Linked DNA regions of Homo sapiens: region 2 is linked to region 1. The links are contacts of gene promoters, found by promoter capture Hi-C in blood cells and fetal thymus (Javierre and others, 2016). All regions are on one chromosome and are shown on one strand. Each heading gives the region's core, a stretch centred on a gene start or on the middle of the fragment in contact. The rest is flanking DNA. Distances are from core to core; before and after follow the strand shown.

Evidence for each region. Contacts are between HindIII fragments. The CHiCAGO score rates a contact against its expected background, and 5 or more counts as called.
Region 2: a contact is called between the fragment with the promoter of TCP11L2 here and the fragment with the promoter of FBXO21 in region 1, in 1 of 17 cell types (non-activated CD4 T cells). The highest score is 5.6, in non-activated CD4 T cells.

Annotation. Positions count from the first base shown.
Region 1 is chr12:117,187,587-117,194,146 of GRCh38, forward strand. FBXO21 (F-box protein 21) reads right to left here and starts at 2,884. Exons shown (of 12, transcript NM_015002.3): 1 at 2,632-2,884; 2 at 1,641-1,776. The coding sequence starts at 2,870. RefSeq lists an enhancer at 2,011-2,100 and silencers at 2,571-2,620, 2,901-3,000, 3,041-3,100. The HindIII fragment of the contact is 6,345 bases long and covers 1,612-6,560 here.
Region 2 is chr12:106,299,597-106,306,673 of GRCh38, forward strand. It overlaps TCP11L2 (t-complex 11 like 2), which reads left to right and starts at 3,137. Exons shown (of 10, transcript NM_152772.3): 1 at 3,137-3,345. RefSeq lists a silencer at 2,775-2,894 and enhancers at 2,915-3,800, 2,975-3,054, 3,065-3,204. The HindIII fragment of the contact is 6,335 bases long and covers 2,164-7,077 here.

The DNA.
Region 1 (6,560 bases), core at 1,634-4,133:
TAATGTTAAGTATGCTCCCGCTGTGTTCAAAGTCCTTGACATACTTCTAATTAAGCAGTGGTACAGGAAAAGGGGGAGCTGAGGAAAAAACACAACAATCCATCATTATTACACAGAGGCACAGACTGTTCAAAACATACACAAAACCAGCTGGACTAGAAATGGAGGTTGCAGGCTCATAGTCCATGACCAACTGCACCAAACATAGCTAGTACCAAAATCTACGTATGTGCAAACACATTCAGATCAGCATTTACAATTTGTGATTATGAATGCTTTTAGCCAGGGCATGGCTTCTCCAAAGTAAAATACAAATTTTGTTTATTCTAACACTAATAAATATTTATAGAAACCAATTACACTAAGGAATGTCTATTTGTATTCTCCATAGGGGAAAACATTCAAATTTGTCCAAAGTTCAAATTTTCCCTTTCAAAACTTGAAAAGCCTTGAAAACATTTCAAATTATTAACTCCATTAACTAACAGTAATTAAAATTAGAGAATCCAAAGGAGTCTTTAGGAAAACAAAAAAGTGAAATAAATCAGATTGGCTCTATTTCTAGAACCCCAACCAGAAATAAATATCGAATAGTTTGTTGAACTCAAAACATTAGTGTGGATTATTTTCCAGAGTTACAAAAAGGGATCAGGGGCAGATACAGAAACTTCCGTGAGGCCAGGCACGGTGGCTCACGCCTGTAATCCCAACACTTTGGTTTGCAGAGGCCGGCGGATCACTTGAGACCAGGTGTTCAAGACCAGCCTGACCAACATGGTGAAACCCCAACTCTACTAAAAATACAAAAATTATCCAGGTATGGTGGCGCATGCCTGTAGTCCCGGCTACTCGGGAGGCTGAGACATGAGAATTGCTCGAGCCCAGGAGTAGGAGGTTGCAGTGAGCTGAGATTGCGCCACTGCACTCCAGCCGGGGAGACAAAGCAAGACTCTGTCTCAAAAAAAGAAAAAAGAAAGAAACTTCCATGAGACATTTTGAGGAAAGAAAAAAAGAAAACAAAACAAAACAAAACAAAAAAAACCCACCATGTATTTCTGCAATACTTAAAAAAAAAAAAAAACCCAAAAACTTTTCAGGGATAATGAATGCAAGACAATTCATTTCAGGGAGTAATAACTCTGATTTATAGGTAGCTTTTAATCCTCTGTTACCTTAACAAATAATGCAGTTCACTACTGGGTAGAACCTGCAAAGCCAGAGAGAAGAACCACATTAATTTCGTCAACCCTTCTGGGAAAACAACCGGGAGAAATTTACAGTGTTCAATCATTGATGATTCCCCAAATAACGGAGGGGTTGCAAAAAAAATCCGTTGAACCCATTTGAGAAATAATGCTGATCTGGACTCCGTCTACATTGTGCTGCGTGGGTCCCTCCCTGCTCCCTCCACCCCCACTCTCTCTCTGGCTTTAGAAAAGTAAAGCTGGCACAGACAAATGGCTTCGTGTTGTTGGATAGGAGGAAAAGGACACAATGACTCTTGCAGCCATCTAAGTGAGTAAGGGATTGTGAGAGCATTGAAAAGGGAGATACGAAAAGAGCTGGATGAGCTCATGCCTGCAGACCCAGACACATACACCAGCAAGCCAAAGCTTAGAGCCACATCAACAGATCCTTACGTGCTCTGAAAAGAACCTCTTTGAGAACGAGGCTACAATCTTCCGCGCTTCTAACCCAGCTTTTTGCCGAACTTTATACTCTTCCAACCAATTGACGTAGTCGGTGGGGCTGTAGTGTTTCATAAGGGAAGGCCACCTACGAGGAGAGAAACACCCCCTCAGCTTAACAGAAACTCAAAGGCAGGCGGCCACGAATCCAAGGCAGCCTTGGAAACAGGGACAGCAGTGGCGTCCAGTGGTAAGAGGGACCCCGGCGAGAGACCTAGTTCAAAACCCCACCAGCATTCACTCACTCACTCCCGGTGTGACCTTGGCGTAGCGGCATGAATGATGTCTCCATTCCCCATCTCTAAAATGGGGACAGTTGTAACAACAACAACAATAATAATAATGACAATGACAGTGAGCACTGATTGAGCGCCTCCTAGGAGCCGGGGCCCTGCGTGCGTGCCTCCCGGACATCATCTAATTTAATAAACACGGTGAAAGGTAGGTCTAATGATCACCACCACTCAAAGTCTATGAACGAGGCTCAAAAAAAGGGAAGTCGCTCCCCCCAAGGTCACAGAGGGAGTGTGCAGGGCCAGATTTCATCCTGGGGCCACGCTGAAATCTGTGCCGTCCACAACCAGCCCGGGGATGCTGCGCCCGCCCGATCGATGCATCACTGGGTCCATGTAAACATTTCAGCCCGAAGTCGGGCACAAAAGAAGCGCGCAAAAGGGACGAGCCGCGCCGCCGCCAGCGTCACCCTTGACGGAGGACCCGGCTGCGAGGCGCTCCTAGATGCGCCATTTGGGGACCCGGGGGTCCGCCTGGCGTGGCCCCGCAGGGTCCGGGGCCTGGAGGCCTTTGTCTGTCTGTCCGCGGGAAGGGGTCCGGGGTGGGGTCCGCGCGCGGGGCGGCCGCGGGGAGCTAGCGGGGCGGCTGCCCGGCCCCGGGGGGCGCGGGGCGGTGGGCGCGCAGCCGGGGCGCGGGGCCGCTGGCTCACCTCACCCGGAACTGCTCCTTCCACACCTTCCCGCTGCTCTGGCACAGCTCGCGCAGCCGCCGGCAGGTGCTGGAGACACGGCCGATGTCGGCGGCCGTCAGCGAGCCGCAGCACAGGATGTACTCCAGCACCTCACCCGGCAGGTTGACGAGGCAGCTGAGGCCCGCTACCTCCGGCGCGGCCTCCTCCGCCAGCGCCGGCACCACCTCCATCGCGCTGTCGACTGCTGCCGCCGCCATCTTGTCCGCGTACCTGGGGCCGCCGCGCGCGCGCGTGCGAGAGTGCCCGGGCGCCCCGCCTGGCCCCGCCTACTGGTCTTGGGGGCGAGTCCTGAGATCGCTCCGCCCATCCGCGGGCCACACCTCCCCTGCATCGGCTGGGGGCTGCGCGGGTGGCAGCGCCGCAAAAGGGAGGACATAATTGGGCTCTGTGCTTGGAGCCGGCAGCGCAAGCCGCCTCTAGTCCGGGACAACAATAGTAGCACTGATTCTTTTAAACGTAATTAATGTTTAAAATTAACAAATAAAAATGGTATCTATTCTCACGCGTGCTGAGCGCTTTCTGTGCGCATTGGACCTTTCCGAATTACCCTGCGAACTTTCTCCCCATATTACAGATGGGGAAACAGGTTCGGAGAGTGAGAGGGCTTGCTCAGGATCCCTTGTCTTGGATTTTTTTTCCCCCTTTGGGAAGGAGTCTTGCTCTCACCCAGGCTGGAGGGCAGTGGCGCTATCTCGGCTCACTGCAACCTCTGCCTCCTGGGTTCAAGCGATTCTCCTGCCTCAGCCTCCCGTGCGGATGGGATTACAGGCGCGCGCCACCACCCAGGTTGGAGTGCAGTGGCCGTGATCTCGGCTCACTGCAACTTCCACCTCCCTGGTTCAAGCAATTATCCTGCGTCAGCCTCCCGAGTAGCTGGGATTACAGGCGCCCGCCACCACAGCCAGCTAATTTTTGTATTTTTAGTAGAGACAGGGTTTCACCATGTTGGTCAGGCTGGTCTCGAACTCCTGACCTCAAATGATCCACCCACCTCGGCCTCCCAAAGTGCTGGGATTACAGGCGTGAGCCACCGCGCCCAGCCCCTTGTCTTGGATTCTATTTCAGATCCACTTGACTTTTGCTTGTCAGTAATCTTAACCATATGATGTAATAATAACAATATTCTTGAGTGGGTGCTATGGGAAGCCCTCTATGATGGTGTAGGGGAGTAATAATAATCCTCAAATGTGTGCCCTGATTTTAGGCTAATAGAGGGCAGGCAGAGAGCTCTCCTGTACTGGTTTCTTAATTGTTTCCAGCTCAACAATCCTTCATATTTGGGGAGCATAGTCTGACCTCCCACAATAGGTACCACAGTTATACCTATTCTACAGAAAAGGCAAAGTTCTTCCAGGTGGCAGTCACTGGTTCAAAGTTACAGAGACAAAAGTGCTAAAGCCTGGATTTGAGTCTTCAAAGCGGGAGTTATCACTCAGGATTGGGAGGGTAGTCTCAGGATCTGCACATTAAAAAAAAAAAATCAGTTTAGTTCAGTGCCAAAGCCCTGTGTTGTGTGCCCTGGGGATACAGGGGTGAGAAAAATGGAGTCTTTGCTTCAAAACCTCAAAGTGCAATTACAGTTAGAAGGATCTGTTGTCAGTACATGGAGGGTCCAATGAAGTACTCCTGGCAACTTGGAAATCAAGATGCCCTGAGAGAGCTGAACTAGTAAAGTGACTCTCAATGGATGGCGTTGAGCCATCTGTGGCTCCCTATTTCCCGTAGAAATGAATGTGACATCCCAAACATTGTTGCAAAGCAACAAACTCCACCTCTTCTTACCTATCTGAAGTCTTTCTCTCTCACTAGCCATGCATACCCCAGCAAGGCTGGTCATCTCTTTCCTCCCATTTCTGGCCCTACATATACTATTCCTGCTGCCTGCAAGGCACTTCATGCAGTCCTCCCCTTCCAGTAGCTCCTCCTCTTCCTCCAGGGCTCAGCTTAACCTTTCCAAATGCTCTCCCTTCCCCCGCCCCAGCACCAGCACCAGATATGGCTCCTGCCCAGCATTTTGCAGTCTTGTAATTACTTAACTTACAACTATTCAACATGCATCTTTCCCACTAAATCTGAAGGGAGTTCAGTGCTAGGACTGTGTCTGAGTCACCTCTAGAAGCCTAGTTACTTGACCCATGCCCTGCACAGAGCAGATTCTCAATTATCTATTGATTGCGATAGTCTAACCAGCTGTTTGACTAGGGAAGTTACTTAGCCTTTCTGAGGCCCAGTTTTTTATCTGTAAAATGGGAATAATAATTAATAATAATAATGCCTGTCTCCTGGGGCTGTCATGAGAATTAAATGAGGAAATTCATGTGAGGGGCATAGAACAGTGGCTGGTATAGAAAAAATCCTTGAGCCGGATGCGGTAGCTCACACCTGTAATCCCAGCACCTTGGGAGGCCAAGGCAGGCAGATCACCTGAGGTCAGGAGTTCGAGACCAGCCTGACCAACATGGTGAAACCCCATCTCTACAAAAATGCAAAAACTAGCCGGGCATGATGCCAGGTGCCTGTAATCCCAGCTACTTGCGAGATTGAGGCAGAAGAATCGCTTGAACCAGGGAGGTGGAGGTTGCAGTGAGCCGAGATCATGCCTTTGCACTCCAGCCTGGGTGACAGAACAAGATGCTGTCTCAGAAAAAACGAAACGAAAAAAAAATTGCTTGACAAAACTGTGTGGGAAGCAGGGAGAAATGGCTCAATGGATATGGGTTTTTTGGTTTGTTTGTTTGTTTTTTGAGGCAGAGTCTCACTCTGTTGCCCACGCTGGAGTGCAATGGCACGATCTCGGCTCCCTGCAACTTTGGCCTCCTGGGTTCAAGAGATTCTTCCGCCTCAGCCTCCCGAGTAGCTGGGATTACAGGAGCATGCCACCATGCCTGGCTAATTTTTGTATTTTTGTAGAGACAGTTTCACCACGTTGGCCAGGCTGGTCTTGAACTCCTGACCTCATGATCTACCTGCCTCGGCCTCCCAAGGTGCTGGGATTACAGGTGTGAGCCATCGTGCCTGGCCTGGATATGGATTTACTTTGGGGTGATGGAAATGTTTTGGAAGTAGATAGAGGTGGTGGTGGTGGTTGCACAGCATTGGGAATATACTAAATGCCACTGAATTGTTCTCTTTAAAATGATTAAATTTTACCAGCATGGCGGCTTAAACCTGTAGTTCCAGTTACTCGGGAGGCTGAGGTGGGAGGATCACTTGAGCCTAGGTGTTCAAGGTTGCAGTGAACTATGACTACACCATTGCACTCCAGCCTGGGTGACAGAGCAAGACAAGACAAAGCCTTTGTGACTCCACTGTCTCCCGGTTCTCCTCTCACCTCTGGGGCTGCACCTTCTCCATCTTCTTTGCAGCCACTCAGATGTTACATGTTGAGGTATCTTGGGCCTCAGCCAGCCCTCTTCTTTCACTATCTTGCCTCTGTCCACAACTCGAATGATGATCCAGATCCAATCGAAATATCCACATTTCTCTCTTCTGCCCCACCCGCTCCTCTGGGATCTAGTCTGGCTTAGCCTGCTCACCTGCCATTCCCTTTGGGCCCTTCAAACTCAACTTATCCAGGAGGAAACTCATGATCTTTCTTCTCCACTTTACCTTGTCTTCTCTTAGTAGTTCCTGCCTTAGGAAGGGCTACTCATTCATCCATTCCTGTAAAACATGAACTTGTCACCATCCTTGCTACCTCTTTCTCCCTCACCATCCATAACCAAATGCCCAACAGAGGTTAATTTCTGTAAGCCTCAGTTTCCTAATCTATAAAACAGGGATAAAAATCTATCTTGCTATTAAATAAGACATATACATCAGTTAGTATTGCTGTGTAACAAATAAACCCAAATTTAGTGACTGCTCTGTTTTTGGCAATGTGGGTA
Region 2 (7,077 bases), core at 1,887-4,386, about 11 Mb before region 1:
ACATGAAGCCAGCCGTGGGAAAGAAGCTTGGAACATAATGAGAAGCTCAGAAACTCAGATAAACACAGTAAGAGAAGCCTCACAACTCCCATAGAGAGAAATAGGGGACAAGATCACTGGAAGTATTTAAATTATTCTCTTGTGTTCCTCATATTCTGTCCTAGATGAGTCCCGTATAGCTAAATTTGCATTACATTAAATCAGTACAATATGCAACTCCACTAGAAAAGTTATAAGGCTGAGAGGTTGCAAATCCAACTGTAATTACATTTTTAGATTTTTGTCAATGATTTATTATAATTTAAAACTCAGATTTCAGATGTGTAAAAAGAAAATGAGTATTTCTATTTCTTCATCGAACAAAAATTTTGATCTGCCCTTAGTCTTTTGCCAAGAGTGATAGACCACATTTAGTCTACCGTGTAATTTACAGGGAGAAAAAAAAACTGTATTACTGTGAGTTCTCTAAGTGGTTCAAAAAGGTAAGTTAGAAAAACTAGGTGTAATAATATGTCTTCTTCAAATAAAATGCTAATTATTTTACTTCTAAAGAGGTTGCCTTTTCAGATTTTGTTGTTTTTTTTTTTTCCTCAGAAAGCCATAAACATAACCTGAGCAGGGAAGATTTTGTGTTATGACTGTCTGAGCCCTCTGAGCAACAATGTGATACAAGGCTCATTTTTGAGGGAACTGCCTTATATTTTACAGCACTCCATTTTTTCAAAGTGTTGTTTTTGTTTTGTTTTGTTTTGAGATGGAGTCTCGCTCTGTCGCCCAGGCCGGAGTAAAGTGGCGTGATCTCGGCTCACTGCAACCTCCACCTCCCAGGTTCAAGCGATTCTCCTGCCTCAGCTTCCAGAGTAGCTGGGATTACAGGTGCGTGCCACCACGCCCAGCTAATTTTTTTGTATTTTTAGTAGAGACGGGGTTTCACCGTGTTAGCCAGGATGGTCTCGATCTCCTGACCTTGTGATCCACCTGCCTCGGCCTCCCAAAGTGCTTGGATTACAGGCATGAGCCACCGTGCCTGGCCCAAAGTGCTTTTATACACAAGTCAGGCCAAGGGCAGTTGGTCAGGTAATTCACAGAAGGGTTTTCAGATAGCAAGTTATTTAACATTAAAGTAACAGAAGATAGTATTTCCAGCATCTTTTCTTATCTCAGCTTGGTTCTCTGATGTTACAGTTGAACTTGCTTTGACAAAAGCTGCTTTCCTGGTGGCTTTGAGAGCTACATATCTGAACTTTAAAAGAAGTGTCATGCCTAGGATCAGGCAGCTGGTCACTCCAGTATAAAGGACAACTACCCTGACTCATGGTCACCTGCTCCAACTTATGTCATAGCTCAAAACAATACTTAAATCCTTACAAAGCTAACAAAGGAAGTAATGTTGCCATGTGTCATTGTCACAGAATTACCAGAAGTTTGGGGGATTTGGGTGTTCATCTTTCTATTGTGGAGTTTTTAGGGTGGTGATGGCAGTTGTGTGGTGGTTGTCATTTGGCAGGAATTGAAATTGGAGGCTTCTGTCATTCTGATTACTTATCCAACGAATGACACAAATAAGAGCATGTTTGTAGGGAAGAACTCAGGTGGGGACAGCACCTTCTATTTAATCTCTTAACCTGTATTATTAGGTTGTATATTTTAGGAGAAGAGAGGAAAGTGGCAAAAGGAGGCACAGATACAAATTTATACAGATCACCAGCTAAGTTTGGCCACAGTGGTTTGCCAAAGAATTTCAATAACTAATACTTAGAGTGCTTACTGTGCACCCTGCTAAGCACTTCACATGCTTTATTTCACTTTATCCTCAAAATAACCCAAGGAAATAGCTATCATTGTTATCCCCAGAGACCAAGATCTCATGGATAGTGAATGTCAGAGCCAGGACTGGAACCATAGAGGAGTCTGTGTTGTAACCACTGAACAACTGACTTTCTACCCTGCTTTAAAATGTTGCCTGTTGTTTGTTGTTGTTGTTTTTGAACGGTGGTGGCCAATCTGCCTCCACAATCCAGACATAATTTCGGCACTAAACAGAAATACTTTAGTCTATACAAACTTCATGTAAGTAGTTCCTGCATGAAACTATTTCCCAAGTAATACAGCACCGATTTACACCTGGCAGAAGGCATAGTTTTGATGTGAACAGTTGGGGGAAGCTTGTTTCTCTACACCCTCAAGCACGCCCACAGCAGGAGCTGAGCAGCAGGCCAGACGGCACAGAGCCCTCCTGGGACTGGTTATTTACATTAACCAAGGTGGAAACTTCTCCCGGAGATAGGTGCTGCCAAGAACCCTAGAGGAAGTAAGACGCTTTATCTTTTGCACGCACGCCAAGTCTTCAGAGGGCCTGGATGGGTGTGACTCCAAGGAGCTAATCGTCCCGTGCAGGTGCAAATCTAGACCCGTGTTTATGTGGAGGTGTAGACGCAACTGGAGATGACCCGGTTAGTGGCTGACGTGCGTGGGAAAGCCCACCAGCAGCGTTGTTGGTTGGGTTGTCTCTGTAAGTGTGGACAGTGTGTTGGTGGGCACCCAGTTCCGATTGCCCCGTCTAGACAGGGGTGTGCGGGCACTCAATGTTCCACGCGCGGCCGGGAGCTCGCAGTGTGGTCCACGCCAGTGCGCCTGGAAGCCCAGGGGATCTGTCCGGCACTCCACTGGAGGCTTGGCCCGCGGCTTCGCCCACCTCCCCAGAGCCCCGCTCAGCCCCCGCTCCCCCCGCTCAGCCCCCGCTCAGCCCCCGCTCAGCCCCCGCTCAGCCCCCGCTCAGCCCCCGCTCAGCCCCCGCTCAGCCCCCGCTCAGCCCCCGCTCCCCCACTCGGCCCCGCCCCCAGTGCCCTGGCAGGCCCCGCCCCCAACGCCGGGCGCTCCCGTCGGCTCGGCGGCCTCAGTTCCGTAAACACTTCTCACCCCGCCCCCGGCAGCCCGGACCGCACCACTCGCCGCGCGGGGGAACCGTGCCCTCTCGCATCCGAAACACCCTCCCATCCGAGCTGTTCTCGGCCTCTCTGGTTCAAACTGACGAAGACTGTTTCTCTAATAGGTTCAGTCTGTGAGCGCTCGGCTTTCGGAGACTGAAGGGCCCTGGATCCCCTTGCCCCGTCGCGCCGTCGTCCCCCCGCTATCCGGTTTTGTGATGGCCGCGCCGTGGCTGCCTCCCTAGAGTCCCTCAGGGCCCTTTAAATACCGCGTTGGGGGGGACACTGGGGCTGGGGGGGTTTGTTGGGCTGGTGAGTTTTCGAGGTGACTGTGCTGTGCTCGGTGAGGGGACGCCCAGAGAGCCCTGACCCGGGGTCACTCCGTCGCCGTTCTCCTCTTGTCTACGTGCTGGACCCGGTGCGTATCCATCACGGGGGAGGCGTTGCCGGCTCGGAGGTGACCGGCCAGGTCCAACGGAGGGGACACCGCTGCAGCCCGAAGGCTCCCCTGCCCTATCTCGGAACTCCATCCTGGGAAGGCGGGGTCAGGGGCCATCAAGCTCGGCTCCTAGTTCATGTCTTCCCACTCCGCGTCCCCTTGTTTGACCTCGAACTGCCGTCCCGCGTGGGAGCGGGGAGCGGGGCACCGAGTGGCCGCCCCGCGTGTCGGGGTGGACACGGACTTCGGGCCTCGGAGGCCGCTTCGCCGCTGTTTAAATCCTGCTGGACAGGTACCAGCGGCATCCCGCCATCAGGGGCCCAGGGCACCCCCTTCCCCCACACTCCTCGGCCGGGCTGGAGTAGGGAACTGAGCCAGGGTAGAGGCAGGGCGGGCCCGGCAGCGTGTGTTTGGGATTTGTTGCCGTGGTTTCCCCGGCACTCAGCTCTGCCTCCGCCGTCCCCTCCCCCAAGGGTTTGTTTTGACAGGAAACCTGGTGCTGCTGGAGGGGAGGGGCGGCCAGAGGACGTGGGTGAGGTCGTGCAGACTGCTGCTGCGTCCCCTTGCCGGGACCTTTGGTTAAGGGGAAGAGGTGGAGAAAAGCCGATTGGGCCTGGGCTCGAACGCTGAACCCTCAGGTGTTGCTTGTGCTTCCCAAAGCTGCTACTGTAGGTGGCACCACTGGGGGTAATAGCAATGATTTGAGGTGGCATATGGATGAACATAGTTACTTGTTTTCGTTACTATTAAGAAAATCTGTTCCATTAAGTAAGCAGTTTCACAATGATAGAGTTTCCTTTTAAAATAAATATATTTAAATGCAAAAATCTAGTCAAGATAGAGACGCGGTTACTAAATTATAGTAAAGGTAAGGAGGGAGACGTAGAAATAGTCATGAAGAGTGGCACTCAAACGACTTAAGTTTGGGAAATCTTAGATGGTTGTCCTGCTACCTTAACTGTGAAGAAACTGGACAAGTTGTCCTTGTCCCCAGTGGGTGTCTCAGCACCCATGGTCACCAGCCCAGTCAGGGACTTTGCTCTTCTTACCTGCCAACGGATAATGAGTTAATCTCAGTGGTTCCCACTTGAGGAGGCTCCCTGCCGTGGTCCTTTTCCTCTCTTCTCTAGGGATTTCATGCATCACCCTGACAGCCAGTGGAAGTTGCCTGATTTGAAGAGGCCCAGGGCCGAAGATACCCAGTCATGTGTGGAAGCAGCTTCAATGCCATTTTGTGAGAGGTTGAGGGCCCCAGAGGGGGAAGCACAGGTATTAAAACAAAACAGACCAGCAAGTGTGGGAGGAGTGCTTTCAAATGTGAAAAGTGCCAGGAATCCTTCTCCCTGATGCTGTAATGCCACGTGTAACGTGAACATCTGCTTTGTGGACAGTGACTGGCTTGTTGGCTTTTATCTAGCTCTTTGTTGGTTCTAACTTGATGAAGACCAGTATTGTCTAGATGAATGGTATGGGCCCCTATCCCTCTGCTCTATGGTTTTTGCTTTGCTGTGGATGAATAACTTTAGTGCTGCTATTTAAGACTGATTCTAAAGCAGCATTTTGCAGAAGATGGAAATTTTTCACATCATCTGCAATTTTTTTCTTTAGAGCCCAGACTTAGTCCTCTGACTCCCTTCCCTTTACTACACATATGTGAAGGCTTGTCCTTGCAGCTGACCTCGATCTAGTGTTGAAGGATGGTACACACTAGAAGTTTCTTGAAATTTCTTTTTTGCGTGAGCTAACCTTAACTGGATGGGTTCAATTCCTCAAGGCCCTGCTGGGTAATCTGAATATTTCACTCCAAAATGTTTATGACTGTAAGCAGTTAACCTTTTTGCTAATACGTGGGGTCTAACTAGGGATTTTGCGGTGCATAAAGAATGGCTCCCTCCTAGAGGATTTTCTGTCACTGTAGCGGGGTGGTGAAGAATTGTTTTGGGTGACGTACTCCTTCAGTGATGCCCTTCACAGAATAGCACTTGAGCAGCCATACCAGGATAAGATCAGCTTGCTACCACATGTGCAAGTGTCCACAGGGTGATGGGTAGATGGATTTGGCAGAGTGGGAGTGGAAAGAATGAGCAGCACACCAAATTTTCTCCAGCCAAACTGGAGTGGTAGAGAGCATGGGTTTTAGGGATCCGCTTCCTGGATTTGAGTTGTGCCTCTACACTGCTGTGAACCCTTGGGCAAGTAACGCAACCTCTCTGGGCCTCAGGATCTTATTATAAAATGGGGATAATACTGATACATTAGCTAACAAGGTTATAATAAGGATTCAAGGAGATAAAATATATAAAGAACTTATCATAGAACAGTTATTGAGTGCTTATTACTACCTCAATAATAAGCACTCAATTACTGTTAGCTGTAATTGTTGTTATTTGCTACACGTGAGTTTCTTTAACCTCCTGGAACTGTGGGTCTTTGCTAGTTTGAATTTTTGGTGCCTTGCAAATGCACTGAAGTAGGCACTGGGAATTGGAGAGGAGAGTCATCGCTTCCACCAGCAGCTTAAAATCTAGTGGGAGACAGATATGCACACAAGTGTAGTACTGTAAGTGACTGCGTAATGGGAATATGAGTAATGTGAGTGAGGCAGAAAAGAAGGAAAACTCAAGGTGTCTTATGAATAGGAGTGTGGCGTAATTAGTTCATGCAGCTGTACTCACTGAGCTCCTGCTCTAGCCCTAGCGGTGTTCTAAGCTCTAGCTGGCTCATTAGATGCAGTGAGTGTAGCAATCAGGGAAGGTTACCTCGTAGTTGGTGACATTAAATTTCAAATCTGAATGACAATAGGGAGCCAACCACAAGGAGATCAGGGAGAGGAACATTTCAGGGGCAGAGAACAGCAGGTATGAGTGCCCCGAAATAGGAAGTTTGGCATGTCTGAGGAACGCAAAGAAGATCATGAAGGGTTAGTGGGAGAACACTGCAGAATAAGGTGGGCAGAGTTAAGATCACAGAGGGTTGTAAACCATGGCCCAGTGACTTAGGAAAAGGGAACCCACCTAGGGATGAACTCTTAAAAAGGATTATCTATTTTGCCTTTTCTGGAGGGCTCTGGCCTATTTCCTGTTTTATTCTTTAGGCACTGTTCAAGAAGGACATCAGGACAAGTTTGACTGTCTAGAAGAGTTCTTGTAATAGAGTGGTATTTAAGCTATCACAGCAGTGGGCACAATCAGAATTTCAAAACTGCAAGAGGTTGGACTGTTCTGAATTTGAATCTTGAAGTTTCAGTTCAGCCTGTCATCTTCTCTTTTAACCTTCTATTTGGAAATACTTTCAAACTTACAGATAAAGTCGTGAGAATAGTATAAGGAATACCATGTTGTCTACCTTTTTCTCAGATTCACCTATTAACATTTTGCTCTATGTGCTTTATTATTTTTTCTCTCTTGCATTTGAATCATTTGAGAAAAAGTTGTATATGTCATGGCCCTTTATTCCTAAATACAAAACCACAGTACATTTCAACTTCAGTATATTTAACATTGGATAACAGACAGTAGATTCAAATATTGTTAACAGTGCTATTGATTGACTGATACTGTCCTTTACAGCATTTTTGCTTCAGTATAGGATCCACTCTAGGATCACCTATTGCACTCAGTTATCAAGTGTTTTTTTTTCATTTGGAACATATTCTCAACCTTTCTTTGTTTTTTATGACATTACATTTTCGGAACTTGTAACTTCTTTTAA